Regions from separate parts of the Homo sapiens genome. Here region 1 is linked to region 2. The links are contacts of gene promoters, found by promoter capture Hi-C in human tissues and cell types (Jung and others, 2019). All regions are on one chromosome and are shown on one strand. The core of a region is centred on a gene start or on the middle of the fragment in contact, and the rest is flanking DNA. Distances in the headings are between cores, read along the strand shown. Region 1 overlaps FOXF2-DT (FOXF2 divergent transcript). Region 2 holds the start of FOXQ1 (forkhead box Q1).

Evidence for each region. Contacts are between HindIII fragments. The study calls those that stand out against the background at their distance.
Region 1: a contact is called between a fragment that was not itself captured here and the fragment with the promoter of FOXQ1 in region 2, in 1 of the 25 tissues and cell types used here (lymphoblastoid cells).

The regions. Positions count from the first base shown.
Region 1 is chr6:1,362,037-1,367,047 of GRCh38, forward strand. The region is part of intron 1 of FOXF2-DT (FOXF2 divergent transcript); the gene reads right to left. Among named protein-coding and RNA genes, the nearest start is that of FOXF2-DT, 25 kb to the right of the region's middle. The HindIII fragment of the contact is 7,838 bases long and covers 1-5,011 here.
Region 2 is chr6:1,310,619-1,315,389 of GRCh38, forward strand. It overlaps FOXQ1 (forkhead box Q1), which reads left to right and starts at 1,480. Exons shown (of 1, transcript NM_033260.4): 1 at 1,480-4,140. The coding sequence starts at 2,087. The coding sequence ends at 3,298. RefSeq lists an enhancer at 1,934-2,650. The HindIII fragment of the contact is 14,044 bases long and covers 4-4,771 here.

The sequences.
Region 1 (5,011 bases), core at 1,060-3,559, 52 kb after region 2:
TCATAGGTGGGAATTGAATAACGAGAACACTTGGACACAGGGTGGGGAACATCACACACTGGGGCCTGTCGTGGGTGGGGGGAGGGGGGAGGGATAGCATTAGGAGATATACCTAATGTCAATGACGAGTTAATGGGTGCAGCACACCAACATGGCACATGTATACATATGTAACAAACCTGCATGTTGTGCACATGTACCCTAGAACTTAAAAGTATAATAAAAAAAAAAAAACAGAAGGAAATTTGGCTGGACGCAGCGGCTCACACCTGTAATCTCAACATTTTGGGATGCCGAAGTCGGTGGATCACCTGAGGTCAGGAGTTCAAGACCAGCTTGACCAATATGGTGAAACCCCATCTAAAAAAAAAAAGATAAGCAGTAAGTCCAGCCTCCATTTATAAGCCAAAAGTACAATTGTGCAGACAAGATAGGAATACAGTCTTCATGTTTGCAGCTGAGGCTTTCATTCAACAGGCCATAGTATTGATGGACAGTGGCAGTGCCATGACTTCTTTGCTGATTTTGCGGCCAGTAGACATTCAGCAAAGCCAGCTCTACAGGGCTTCACTCTTCGCTCGGCTGTTGTGTTCTTACCCAGCCTATGAACATGATAACTTACTCCGTAAGATGCTTCCGCGGTTCTTTCATGTCTAGTTTGGAAAGCTGTAACAATTTTGGGGTTTTTAAGGAGCTCATCAAGTCTATGTTTAAAATACTCAACTCCCTTTTTCCTTAAACTCTGAATGTTTTGTCCAAAAATAATGTCACAATTTAACTAGCACCATAATACAATTTGGAATTTTTTCTGTTGCGTAAGACACCATAAGGTAAATTCCTAACGTCTATAGAGCTGATGACCATCACATTTTCGTTGCCATTTACAATTTCACACAGTTTCTTGGGATTAGACTTCTCCTTTCATGACTGAGAGAATGCTCTGATACAGCAATTCTGTCCTTTTCGGCGCCTTTACACATGAGATGCTGCACGCTGAGAAAGCAAATCTTCTAATGTCCCTTTGGAAAGTCCATGACCCATCCTTAAATATAACAAAACGTGTTACAAATAAATTTCATTTTATTTTAGAATAAGATATTAGATTCTAGAATTGTAACAGTTTTAGACAGAATTATAAAATTTATAAAAGGGTTCAGAAAAAATAGGAGAATGCTATTGAAACAAGACAAAAACCGTACTTACTTTTTGTCATATTTCTGCACAGTTGCAGAGAAACTGTTGGGACTTCAATATAACAATTTATAAACATGATAGTAGACACAGGGAAGACAGACAGCAAGAACGCAGTGGAGGAACTAAGAACAAGCTGAGTTCATCTCTGAAAATGTGCCCCGAACACATCAACCCTACTAACTGAGAAGGTTCTGGAGGACATAAGAACACACAAGCCCATGTTTCACCAGCCATTGTGCAATATCTTCACACGCCATGTATCGTAGCCTCTGGAAAACCCTAGGGCACTCTCTTGTGAGAGTGATGGTGAAAAGAGGAAATACTGTCTTAGTATTATTATGAAATAGTTTCAACCTCACAGACCCCTGAGAGGGTCATGGAGACCCCAGGGATCCACACACCACATCATGAGAACACTACTCTAGATGACTTCCTTTGATCTTGAAGGCAGAATCCAGGAAGAAAAAAAAAAAAAAAAATCAAGGCCCAGGGAGCCTGGGCTTTCCCACAGCCTTGGGGCTTCCAACCAGGGTTGGGAGGTGCGTTTTTACCAGGAAGAGCCTCCTCCACACTCACAGGCCTTCTGCAGCTGCAGGCTTCCAAACCAGAAAGGACATTCGAGGCAGCCACATGGCACGCTTGCTTCTCCGCAGCTTTCTCTCCGTTCCTGGGGACATGTTCCACCTCACTGACAACCCTTCACATGTGCACGCCATTCTGGAGATGGGTCATAAACATTTGAACTATATTGGCTCAATAATGGGGACATTTTGGCTCCAGACTGTGCTGAACTTTGCCCATTCCAGAAATATCCCGTAAGACATTCCCAAGGCACTGAATGATGCAAACCACATTTATCCACTTACGATGGACAAAAATGTGACTGCAAAGCAGAACCTCAGCTTCTTCCCAGATAAAAGAGATGATGTGGACGGTGTTCATAATACAAAACTTCCATTTCCCCTTACTTGAAAACAACTTCCCATGGCTCACGACAGACTCCTGAAGTTTTAAGAATGATTTAGTGTAGAATCAATATCAAGCACCTCCTGTACCCTCTGCCCTCACGCGTGGGAGCAGGATACGGTCCAGCAGATGGCGTCATCCCCATGCTTCAGGAGTTTTGCAAATACTAATATTAACAGGCATAGCAGAAAAGCAGTAGTAACATGTCTGCGTCACTTATTATAGGCACAGTCATCAAGCATTAGCATTTACTCTACACATACTTTTTTAAAATTCTGCAATTTATTGGCATAGGACAGTGAGCAGTCATTCCACCCAGTCTCCTTAAGCAGTATTCCTCTTTCTATCTTATTAGCCAGCTTTCTATCTGGATTCGTGTGCTCCGGCTTCCGTAACAAATATCAGACACTGGGGGCTTAGACAACAAGCATTTATCCTCTCACAGTCCTGGAGGCTGGAAGTCTGATACCAAGAGGTGGGCAGGGTTGGTTTCTCCTGGTGCTCCTCTCCTTGGCTTGCAGATGGCGTCTTCTCTCTGTGTCTTCAAATGACCTTCCCTCTTAGTGTGTCTGTGTCCTCATTTCTTCTCCTTTTAAGGACAGCGTCTAAATTGGATTAGGGCTCACCCAAAGGCCTCATTTTAACTTAATTGCCTCTTTTAAGACTCTATCTCTAAATACCGTCACATCCTGAGGTCCTGAAGGTTAGGGCTTCAACATATGAGCTCTGGGGAGGCCAAATCCAACCCCTAACATTATCTTTCCTGTATCCTTCAGTGTTCTCTTACATTTTCTCAGGGAAGACTGGGCAGCAAACATTATCAGCCTTGTTCACCCATGAATCAACAGGCCTTGGCAAATATTTCTGGCATGTAGCAATGGTTCCATAAATATTTGTTGAAAAGATGAAAGTTTTATGAATGTTCACTTGTAGATCCATCAGCATCACAAACATAAAAATATTACAACCTAAGAATCCTATTCAAGTGACTCCATTCTATATTTTATAGCAAGAAACAGTCATTTATTCTCATACAAAGTATCCCAAATAATTGGATCCAAAGACTGTTACACGATGCAGTTATTAAGTTTTAAATTATTTTCTGAGTGGTAACTCAAAATAATTCTACGAATTTACTTAATGTCTTTACCTCTGTTAAGGTAAGAGAACTAAATAAACTTTTGAAGTATGATTTTCAGAATGAATAATACTTTCCCATGTTGCTGAGTCAAGTTTATCTTAAACTGTGCTGTCCATGGCCTCAAGCCTTCCATACTGATAAGTGATTCTGCATGTGAACACACACTTCCACAAACCACGGCATGTGCAGATTAAAGGAAAAGAGTTTTTGGTCAAAATTTCCCCACATATGCTCTCGAGCAATATCATTTATTATGTAAATAAGCTCCTTTAAAGCGTAAATGTTTAAAGCAGGAAACTAAGCAAATCTGGGTTGTTGGTTTTTTTTCTCTCCCTCTCTAAATAGAAAAAGGGATGCTTCTCAAGGCATACAGCAAAGTCAGGACATTTATATCTTCCATTCCATGAACTCATAAACATCTGCATTTGCATCTGGAGTTATACGGCCTGCGTATCTAAACCAAAATTCATCCGCACGCTGTATCTGGAAAATTATTCATCAGAAAGAAAAGTATTGCAAAATGTAGCTGGCTTCTTGAATGTCATGGAAAAAATTCCTTTAAAAAATAAATAAATAAAAGTTGTTCTGAACTCTGCAGAATTGGCAGGAAACTGAAGAAGTCCAGGATTTTTCTCTGCTGGTTTTAGTCTTCTTAAATACCGGGAGCCTTAAAATACCTTCACTGGGGGCAACAGAGAAAAACAGAAATAGCAGCATTGTGTCGGCCACAGTAGGCCATCCCATTCACACAGCAGCCTGCAAACAATCTCTCGTGCCACATTTAGGGAAAAACACAATTTTAGGAAATCCAAACAACCCGTAAACCCACTGACCTACAGATAACCTATTCGGCAACAATGAAACTTGGAAAAAGTAAAAGGGAAAAGAAACTCGCAAAGGAAAAAGAAGGCTTTCCTATCTCAGGAACTAAGTCAAAAGCCCAGGTATTTCAAATCCCTGCCTTCATGGGTCTGCTCTGGTTCTGAAGTCCTGTTGGGTAATTTACCTGTGCTATGTAAGTCACTATGGAAGACAGCTCAGCACCGTGGCTCTGAAGTGCAGGGAATGCCACACACACAGCTAACGCAGAGCAACCGGTCTCCAGGACACAGACGAACCTCGAGTTAAATTTCACCTCAAAAGCATAGGGGAGCATCGAGATTGTTTGCTACATGCTCAACCACTGCAGGAAATCATGCAAAGAAAACTATTATGGAGCTTGCAGGCCCTTCCCAAGTAAGGAGACACCTCAGAGAAAGAAGACTGTCATAGCTCATAGTGCAGACCACAGAAGGCAAAGATCCAGATAAAAACGGAGGCAAAAATCAAGCATGTGTGGACTTTTCCTAGAACCCTCCTTTGGCTGTATGAAAAGGCAGATGCAAGATGCCCCTCCATTCTGAATTTCATTCAAAACAAAAAGTATTTCAGAATTTTGTTTCCACATTCAAATTGTGATGACCTAGAAAAGCACAAAAACTTTGACTTGTTTGTTTGTTTTACTTCTCTCTTTGTCCCAGGGACAGAGGAATTTTTTTAAAATAAGGAAAATAGCAAAGCATGGTGGCTTACGCCTGTAACCCTAGTACTTTCAGAGGCCAAGACAGAGGGATCACTTGAGGCCAGGAATTCAAGACCAGCCTGGGCAGCATAGTAAGGCCCCCATCTCTACAAAAAAAAAATTAAAGATTATCTGGGCAGGGTTGTGCA
Region 2 (4,771 bases), core at 230-2,729:
AGGCGCATACTTAATAAAGTCAGTCTAATCTCCGAACGCGATCCTTCCCCAAATACAAAAATAACAGAGCTGTGGCTGGGGCTGTCATGTTGCCCGCCCCATTGTGAATGGCTTCAAAACTCCCTGAATAAAGATAAGAGAGGATTGTGTACGTTTTCAACACAAATGGTGGAAAGTAATAAAATAAACATCAAAGGTGAGCTCCCACCTACTAGCGGCTCCGTCGCTTTTTGTGCAACAAAGGCAGGAAAAAGGAGGAAACTCGGCGTGGCAGGGCAGCGGGCTGGAAGTGCACCTTCCCGGGGCCGAGGCGCCCGCTCCCTGGACTAATGACGCCGCGTGGGGATCACGCCCCGGGCGCCCTGGGGTGAGGAACGGTCCCCCCTTTCGAGATTGTCCGACACTGGTGCCAGTGAGGTCACAGCAAAAGTCCCAAAGGAATATTGGAAAGAAATGGCCGTGAACCGGTTTGTTCTTGCCCCCGCCCCCGGGAACACGCCCTCTCCGTCGTTCCTGTTGACTGTCAGATCCCGGGAACCAAGCGGCGGAGCTCGGCGGCATCTGAGGCTTCCGCAGGGACACAAGTGCAGGCACAGCCCAGCACCCTGCGCCAGACACAGCCGCCCCAGGGGAAGAGGAGGACGCTGCTGTCCTCCCGCAGGAGTCACCAGCCAGGTAAAGAAAAAGGTAAAGTAAGACAAAGAAAAGTGAAAGTCGGAGCCCATTTAGTGAGCAAGAGTAAAGGTCATCCAAAAAGGCGCATACAATTTCAAGCCCAGGAGTGCATTCATTAAAACAAGAGGAAAAGACAAGATGGTCCTTGAAAGGAGCTCATAGGAAGGGGCACAGCACAAGGCTCCCGAAAGAGGTCACTGCAAGTGTCCTGCGCAATTTCTGTTCAGCACCTCTGCAGTGACGACAGGGGTTTGCTTTCGTAAGCAGCATCGTTTTCACTACTACAGAAGCACATACGCCGCGTGCAGCTTAGGCCCGAGCAAAGTCCCTGCTCCCCTAGACCCAGTCCCTTCAGGTGTCCCCCTAGGGGAACTGTGGCGTGTCCCCCCAACCAGGCGCACTCGCCTAAACTGCGTCCCCGAACTCCAGGGCGCAGGGAGCCCTCGCGGGCTGCCCGGGGCTGGGGCCCACACCTGAACGGAGGAGCCGGCTGGCGGAGCGGCCCCGCGCGCGCACACACGCACACTCACAGACACGCGCAAACCCACAGCGGCGCGCGCGCTCCCCATTGGCGGGAGGAGGAAGGCGGGGCCGGCCGACCCAAAACAAACAACCTGCGCCAGCGACTTTGCCGCCGCGCTGCAGTGTGGCCTCCGCCTGGTGCGCGCCCGTTGGGGAGCTGGGGAACTGGGGAGCCGCCACCACCTCGGCCACCTCGTTCCCCCACCCCTTGCCGTCCGCGCTCAGGCCCCGCCCCCGCGGAGCCGCCGCAGGGTTATATTGGGCCGGCCCGAAGGTGGAGGCGAGACGCAGCCGCGGCAGGCCAGCGGGGAGATGCTGCCCCGGAGGCTGGGAGCGGGAAGGCGGCTGCGGGCGCAGCGGCCTCGGGGACTCGCCTCCGCGGGTGCTCAAGGCTGAAGGCGCCGGACCTTCCCCCACGGTGGCACGCACATCATCCGGCACCATTTCCGTGCCCCGAAGACGCCCGCGCGGGACCTGGGACCGCCAGTGAAGAACCCCTCCTGGGCTCTTTAACGAGCAGCAGATGCGCATGCTGCTTCTCTCCGGCAGGAAAGCCTTCTAAGCCCGGCGTGCTCGGGCACCCGAGGGTGGAACCGCGGCCCCTGCACACACTCACCCCAAAGTCTCAACGTCGAACCGAAGGCGACACCCACCCAACTCCTCCCTCTCCGCCCCATAGTCCACCCAACACTTGCAGCCCCTCCAGAGAAAAAGCCCAGCGGAAGAGGACTCCGGAAAAGTGACTATCTCGGAAGACCAGGGTAGAGCTCCCGGGAGAAAAAGGCGAAGATCCCCGGCCCCGGATCGCCATCCCCTTCCCTGGCACCAGCTTCTCTAGGCTGCGCGAAGGAAGAGGGTACGACGCCGGGGAGGGACTGGGTGCGCGGGCATGAAGTTGGAGGTGTTCGTCCCTCGCGCGGCCCACGGGGACAAGCAGGGCAGTGACCTGGAGGGCGCGGGCGGCAGCGACGCGCCGTCCCCGCTGTCGGCGGCGGGAGACGACTCCCTGGGCTCAGATGGGGACTGCGCGGCCAACAGCCCGGCCGCGGGCGGCGGCGCCAGAGATACGCAGGGCGACGGCGAACAGAGTGCGGGAGGCGGGCCGGGCGCGGAGGAGGCGATCCCGGCAGCAGCTGCTGCAGCGGTGGTGGCGGAGGGCGCGGAGGCCGGGGCGGCGGGGCCAGGCGCGGGCGGCGCGGGGAGCGGCGAGGGTGCACGCAGCAAGCCATATACGCGGCGGCCCAAGCCCCCCTACTCGTACATCGCGCTCATCGCCATGGCCATCCGCGACTCGGCGGGCGGGCGCTTGACGCTGGCGGAGATCAACGAGTACCTCATGGGCAAGTTCCCCTTTTTCCGCGGCAGCTACACGGGCTGGCGCAACTCCGTGCGCCACAACCTTTCGCTCAACGACTGCTTCGTCAAGGTGCTGCGCGACCCCTCGCGGCCCTGGGGCAAGGACAACTACTGGATGCTCAACCCCAACAGCGAGTACACCTTCGCCGACGGGGTCTTCCGCCGCCGCCGCAAGCGCCTCAGCCACCGCGCGCCGGTCCCCGCGCCCGGGCTGCGGCCCGAGGAGGCCCCGGGCCTCCCCGCCGCCCCGCCGCCCGCGCCCGCCGCCCCGGCCTCGCCCCGCATGCGCTCGCCCGCCCGCCAGGAGGAGCGCGCCAGCCCCGCGGGCAAGTTCTCCAGCTCCTTCGCCATCGACAGCATCCTGCGCAAGCCCTTCCGCAGCCGCCGCCTCAGGGACACGGCCCCCGGGACGACGCTTCAGTGGGGCGCCGCGCCCTGCCCGCCGCTGCCCGCGTTCCCCGCGCTCCTCCCCGCGGCGCCCTGCAGGGCCCTGCTGCCGCTCTGCGCGTACGGCGCGGGCGAGCCGGCGCGGCTGGGCGCGCGCGAGGCCGAGGTGCCACCGACCGCGCCGCCCCTCCTGCTTGCACCTCTCCCGGCGGCGGCCCCCGCCAAGCCACTCCGAGGCCCGGCGGCCGGCGGCGCGCACCTGTACTGCCCCCTGCGGCTGCCCGCAGCCCTGCAGGCGGCCTCAGTCCGCCGCCCTGGCCCGCACCTGCCGTACCCGGTGGAGACGCTCCTAGCCTGAGTAGCGCCGCGGGGCCCGGGAACGCCGAGTGCGCGCCGTCGGGGAGGCGGGAACGCGGGCCCGCGCGCGGACTTTGCACTTTGAATCCAGAGGAAGATGAATTTTTAAAATCTCCATCAAACGTGCCTTAAAGCTAAAGCATTTTGACAGGAGTATTTAAACTTAGTCCAGGATATTTTCCTTTGTGTTTTATAACTTTACAGAGGACCAAAGCAATTCTTGTTTTAGTTTCTTTGCGAAGCCTGCTCCTCCTTCCCTTCATAAGGACTTTTTTTGTCTTTCTTTAACGCCCAGGCTTCGTCTTATTTCTACTGTTTTTGTCGCAACTTCCATTGATTTATGTCCCTTCCCTCCCCCCTAAGTACATCAGGGAACCTTTCCACACTATAAATGATATGACTACTGTTTGGGGTTTCTGGGCCCCCATCCGTGTACGTATGTGGCATTTCCAGGTATGACTGAGTGTGAGAGACATGTCAGAGGCTCTTCAGTGATTTCTTGCTATTGACCGATGCTTCACTGTGCCAAAAGAGAAAAAAAATGTTGGGTTTTGTAATTAAATTATTTATATATTTTTGAAACCCGAATTGAAAATGTTGCAGGCAACGGGCTACAGCTTTATTAGTGGTTCTCTAACTGTGGTCTCCTTGGGCCAAGCAATTTCTTTAAAGGAAAAGTTGATTATGTATGTGGGGTGCCAGGACCACTGCCTTGAAAGCAAGTGTGATTTTTATTTTTAATATTATTTTATTTGTGTCTGTGTACATATTCATGTATAAATTTTATGAAACCCAAGCATAGTGCTTATTTTTTAATAAAACAACTGACTTAACACATTGTGATGATGGGTTGGAAGTGGAGAGATTTTTATGTCTGTCCCCCCTCCCAAAAAAATGGGCTCAGGTTTTGGTCTCAAGAAACTTCCTCTGGAGATAAAAATATTTTCCTGAATAATTCGATAAAGGTATTATAGAATGGGCTTGCAGATTTCCGTATGAGATGCATTGCTAGACAGATTTCCAGATAGGACTTCCATTCATGGGCTTTTTAAAAGTTGAAAACCAATTACTCCTCTAATTAGTCACCTAAGTGCTTCCAGAACAAATGAGAGGGAAGTGTCCCTCTCTCCCCCAAGAATCCTTAGCAGGCAAGTTGAGTTCTTAACAAGCCTAGAGTCAAACAGATATTTTCAGGTAAATTGGTTTCGATTTGGGGCTCAAAAAGTTGGAGCCCCAATTTTTTTGACAACTTTTTTGTCATAAGACTATCTTAAAATATCAAAGGTGTCTTCAGGGCAATTTCAAAAGCAATTTAAATGTCATAGTGTTTTTGTCAAAACAAAACCATCCACCTTTTTAGGAATGCAAAAGTTCAACTGGGTGTGAACCAATGGGTAGTATTTTTTTCACTCTTCCCTCATCTGTAAAGATTTCACTTGAAGCAGTGGCAATGTCTTGCATGTTTCAGTTGCAG